2 separate regions of the Homo sapiens genome follow, and region 2 is linked to region 1. Evidence: promoter capture Hi-C in 16 types of primary human blood cells and fetal thymus (Javierre and others, 2016). All regions are on one chromosome and are shown on one strand. The core of a region is centred on a gene start or on the middle of the fragment in contact, and the rest is flanking DNA. Distances in the headings are between cores, read along the strand shown.

The links. The method cuts DNA at HindIII sites, captures the fragments that hold promoters and counts their contacts. A CHiCAGO score of 5 or more calls a contact.
Region 2: a contact is called between a fragment that was not itself captured here and the fragment with the promoter of COX20 in region 1, in 1 of 17 cell types (total CD4 T cells). The highest score is 5.6, in total CD4 T cells.

Annotation. Positions count from the first base shown.
Region 1 is chr1:244,834,342-244,837,091 of GRCh38, reverse strand. COX20 (cytochrome c oxidase assembly factor COX20) reads right to left here and starts at 1,434. Exons shown (of 4, transcript NM_198076.6): 1 at 1,336-1,434. The coding sequence starts at 1,377. RefSeq lists silencers at 1,081-1,370, 1,411-1,460, 1,701-2,040 and enhancers at 1,541-1,660, 2,201-2,260. The HindIII fragment of the contact is 7,018 bases long and covers 141-2,750 here.
Region 2 is chr1:246,573,409-246,576,108 of GRCh38, reverse strand. The region is part of intron 1 of CNST (consortin, connexin sorting protein); the gene reads right to left. Among named protein-coding and RNA genes, the nearest start is that of CNST, 8.3 kb to the right of the region's middle. The HindIII fragment of the contact is 2,120 bases long and covers 227-2,346 here.

The DNA.
Region 1 (2,750 bases), core at 185-2,684:
AAACCACCTTTATGACCTTTAAAAACAGCAGTTATCTCCTACCAAAAGTCCCATTCAGGATTCCAGTGTTTATCACAAAACTGAATCTAGGATTTACTGTGTGTATGCAAAGATCTTTTTTTTTTTTTAAACACTAAGCTTATTCCAGATGGGCAGTGTATGGGACAGTAAAAACAGATAAGGCACCAGTAGTACGTAAACTGACAACCTGTTGGATATTAAGTATGAAAACAATTTATACAATATTTGTTAATATTAACCATATGATCTGATGTCATGGCCAAATTTGGATGGAAGCCCACCAGAGAAGCAAGCAAGAGCAAGAAGTGAGCAGAATTTCCAAGCTGGGAGAATATCTTAAGTATATATTAGGAGCCATTTAGCACACAGTGGGTCTTCTATAAATATTTGCTCGTGATTAGCCAATGTTACGATCTCCCTAGTTTATATTAAACTTTTTTCCTCTTGCATTATTCTTTTCTGAATACCTGTTCTGCCCTGAGGATATAAATTAGGTTCCCTGCTCTTAATAAGGAGCCCAGGAAAAGAGGAAAACAAGATCATTTATTACCTTCCAATATGATAAATGTAACGACGTACAAGATGCCTGGGAAGATGGGGAAAGTACGTAAGTCAGCTTTGGTGAAACACAGGAGCCCTTCCAGGGAGAGCGCTTGGTTTAGCTTTACTATACCAAGAATTTGGGTTTTATCCTTAAAGAGATAGGATGGGCTGCTACGACTGGATGTTAGGCAGAGGAATGAAAACTGTCCAGTTTACAGGCTGGAAAGGGCCAGCGGACAATAGTGGAAGGTGGATTCAGGAGAGTATGGAGACAGGGACACCAGCTAGGGAGGCTACTGGTGATGGGGAAGAAATCTTAACCCTTCATCTCATCGTAGTACAATCAAGTCATCCCTCAGCAATTACTCCTATGTTAAATGTGATGAATACAACGTGTTAAAGACAAGGCACCTGTCCTCAACGGAGCTTTAATCTCTACTATTAGCCTTTACTAACAAATTACAGTGCAGTGCCCTTAGCAGCAAAATTTTCTCGCCAAAGATTCAGTATTGTTAGCTTATTTCATAATGACCTGTAGTAAGTCATTAGTACTACTGGTCCCCTCCTCCCCCTAGTTTTGGTCAATTTTGTCCCGGCCACTTAGATTAAAATGTTGGAGGCTTGGGATAAGGACTAGGAACAGTTAAAATAGTTTCAAGCCCATGGGTGGCAGAGAAGCCAGTGACACGTGCTCCGGGCCTAGGAGCTCCGCGGAGAACGTCCTTACCCACCGCCCACCCGCGGCGCGCGCCCCGCCGACCCCCAGGTTACCTTCCTCTCCTCGGGCTCACCGGGCTCCGGCGGGGCGGCCATGAGGACTACTCCGCGACTCCACCCGCCCTGCACCGCCGGGGTCGCGGAAGCAGAAGCCCGGCTGGCCGCGCCCCTCCCCGTCCCGCCCCCACGCGCCGCCGCCTCCCGCCCTGTTCCGACGCGCCGGCCGCCATTTTAGGGAATGTTCCTAACGCTCCGCAGTGGCCGCACGGGGCCGGGCTGTCATGTCCTTTGTTCCGTCGAACGGGTCACACTTTCTTCCAAGCTCGGCACACAGCCTGCAGGGGCGGGAGAGCGGAAGGAGATGGGTTCGGAAAACAAACCGACTCCTAGATTCCTGGCGAGGTGGGGGCGTAACCGAGCCAGACAGCCCCGCTTCCCGCGCCAGCCCCCTGCTCCGCCCCAACCGCCATTTCTAACCGTCTCCGGCGCGCGTGCTCACACGCACGAGCCTCGGGCGCGCGCCGAGGGGCGGGGCCGCTGCTTTGTCCTGCGGGGTGGGCCCCACCGCGGGGGTCGGCCCGGCCCCAGCCCCCAGCCCGCCCCAGCCCACCGACCCGGAAGGCGCTCCGCGCTGGCTCGGCGGCCCTCGTCCCCTAAGTGTCCTTTGTCCTTCCGGCCACGGGACGAGCCCTTGGTGCCGGGGCAGCCCCACTCTGCACCAGCAGCCATTTAGTCCCCCGCGCCTGCCTTGCGCAAACGGGGCTCCCACGCCCACCCCACTTCCTCCCTTTTATAGTTTCATTACTAAGTGGCTTTAACATAGAACCGCGCAGTTCGCCTAAAGGAGACTGGGGACAAAATGGAGGGAGCAGCTCGCTAATGAACATGCGTCAGCACGTTGGTGTCCGCGGAGAGGGCGCGCGTGTGGCGAAGTCTTCCGGCGTCCCCGAAGGAAAAATGCCTCTGCAACGTGCATTTTTGATGTGAAGTCGTGTTCCACGTTTCACTCCTCCCTAAGACTGCGACATAACGTGAAACAAAATACTGCATATTGTCGAGCTCAATGGAGAACGCGTGCATGCAGGGTCGAGCCCATTTTTCAGCCATCAAAATAATACAATGCAATTTTTTCTAGTATTTATAATTTTTCCCCTTTAACTTTATGCCTCCTTTATGTACTTCTACATTTCACGTTTAGGTTATATGTAACCTAAGGGCACTCCTTAGGAAACTGGACTTGTAGAATATGTCATTGTGCAAAGTCATGCTGCTTCGAATTATGCTGCGCGCTGGCACACAGCAAGCGCTCAGTGTTAACGATGTCGAATTCATATTAAGTACTGTTCATTGGGCGTTTTCTTACTCCGTAAGGACCTTACTTGCATGCCCATTTGATACCTTTCTACAATCCCAGTAAAATACACAGTTAAGGTTGTGTATTTATGTGTCACATTTTTTTTTTTGAGGTT
Region 2 (2,700 bases), core at 37-2,536, 1.7 Mb before region 1:
CGCCCGCCACCATGCCTGGCTAATTTTTGCATTTTTAGTAGGGACACGGTTTCACCATGTTGGCCAGGCTGGTCTTGAATTCCTGACCTCAAGTGATCTGCTCGCCTCGGCCTCCCAAAGTGCTGGGATTACAGGCGTTACAGGCGCGAGCCACCGCGCCCAGAGAGCACTGAAATCTTATATGAGAATGTTGTTTTAAAGTGTCAGTATTGTTCTTGAATAAGCTTATATTATTTTTTATCATTGAAATAAAAATAGGGAATTTTTAAAAATGCTAATTACTTTTTTCCTCTTCCACTTCTCTGTATTTTACATATTTTCTATGATAAACTTGTATTTTTTCTAGTTGAGTTTCATGACACCTTTATCGACATATAATTCATATACCATACAATTCACCCACTTAAAATGCACAATTCAATAGCTTTTAGTATTCACAAATTGTACACAATCAATTCTAGAACATCTTATCACCCCGAAAAGATCCCCCCTGCCCTACATACCCACTAGCAGTGATTTCCCATTCTCCTGCACCCCCACCACAGCCCCAGGCAATCACTCAAACCACTCATGTACTTTCTGTCTCTATAGATTTACATATTCTGGACATTTCACGTAAATGGAATTATACAATATGCGGTCTATTGCAATTAGCTTCTTTCACTCAGCATGTTTTCAAGGGGTATCCATGTTGTACTATATACTGATACTTCATTTCTTTTTATTGCCAAAGAATCTTCCACTGTACAGATATACCACCTTTTATTTATCTATTCATCAGTTGATGGACATTTGGGCTGTTTCTACTTTTTGACTCCTGTGAATAATGCTGTTATAAACATTTGTGCACGTTTTTGTCTGAACACTTGACAAAAGGTCAGGAGGTCAGGAGTTCAAGACCAGCCTGGCCAACATGATGAAACCCCGTCTCTACTGAAAATACAAAAATTAGCCAGGCTTGGCGGCGGGTGCCTGTAATCCCAGCTACTCGGGAGGCTGAGGCGAGAATCACTTGAACCCGGGAGGTGGAGGCTGCAGTGAGCCAAGATCGTGCCACTGCACTCCAGCCTGGGCAACAGAGTGAGACTCTGTCTCAAAAATAAATAAATAAATAAATAAATAAATAAATAAATAAAATACTTGAGGAAGATTTGTTCAGATTTGTTCTTTGACTCACTATGACTTTCCTTCATAATCTATTAAATTATTTTTGTTTTAAATAAAATACTACTAAAAATGATGCTTTTACATAGGAATCCTTATAAAGCCATAGCTGCTTATAAGAGAGATTTAGGAAGGACATGCAATAACCAACCAAGTCAAACTGATGCTGTGGTTGTTGTCCTTTTTTGAGTAACATATTCCTTGAAAAATCTGATGAAAGTTGAGAATTCCCTCTGAAAAATACACGTATTGTGCTTTGGGAGGCCAAGGCTGGAGGATCGCTCCTGGAGGAGGCCAGGAGTTCTAGACCAGCTGGGGCAACACAGGGAGGCCCTATCTCTGCAAAAAGTTAAAAAAAAAAAATTAGACTGCATACCTGCAGTCCCAGCTACTAGGGAGGCTGAAGTGGGAGGATTGCTTGAGTCCAGGAGTTTGAGGCTGCACGGAGCTATAATCTTGCCACTGCATGGCAACCTGGGTGATAGTGCGACAAGCTGTCTCTAAAAAAAATTTTTTTTAAAGAAAAAGAAAAAACACGAATTTTTGAATAACCATGTTTTCCTCAAGTTAAAATTTATTTATCTTTTTAAAAAATCTTTGGAGCGGCTGGGAGCGGTGGCTCACGCCTGTAATCCCAACACTTTGGGAGGCCGAGGCGGGCGGATCACAAGGTAAGGAGATCGAGACCATCCTGGCTAACACGGTGAAATCCCGTCTCTAATAAAAATACAAAAAATTAGCCGGGCGCGGTGGCGGGTGCCTGTAGTCCCAGCCACTCCGGAGGCTGAGGCGGGAGAATGGCGTGAACCCAGGAGTAGTGGAGCTTGCAGTGAGCTGAGATCACGCCACTGCACTCCAGCCTGGGCAACAGAGCGAGACTCAGTTTTATTAAAAAACATCTTTGGAGCATTATTACTTCTGTAATCAAGAAGGAAAAAAGAGGCAAAGATGTGTACTTCTACCCCCCACCACTTCGAGTTTCTAATAAAATATGCCTATTCTGACCTGTCAGCTTTCCATGGAAAAAACTAAAAGGTGAGGGAAGGCAGAATAATCTATAGAGACATTCTGGGCACATTTTTTCACTTACACTGAAGAGCTGGAGGAAAATGGAAACTCTCCAGCAAAGGCTATACAAAGTACGTGGTTTTACACAAAGCGTTACACAAGTACATGGAAGCTTTAGTTACAAAACAGATATTCTTAGAATATGTTTCCTCAGCCCAGATAAGTGTTCCTGGAGCAGAAATTTTGCTCATAAGGTTTTTGCACTCGCAGCTGTTCTCTTTGAGGCTTCAGGGAAGGCAAGCCATGGACACACAGGTTAAAGCTCTGTTGGCATTCACCGGGCAATCCCTAGGTTTTCCCCAGCTATGCAGTGGAGACAGGAAGGATAAAAAGCCCGCAGGCATCAGAATGCACGAAACTATAACCAACCAAGAGGCCACCTGATATAATAAAAACTAACTTCTTGAATTAAATACTATTTTACTTTAGGTTATTTTGAAATACAGCTTTCTCTGGCTAGTGAAAAGA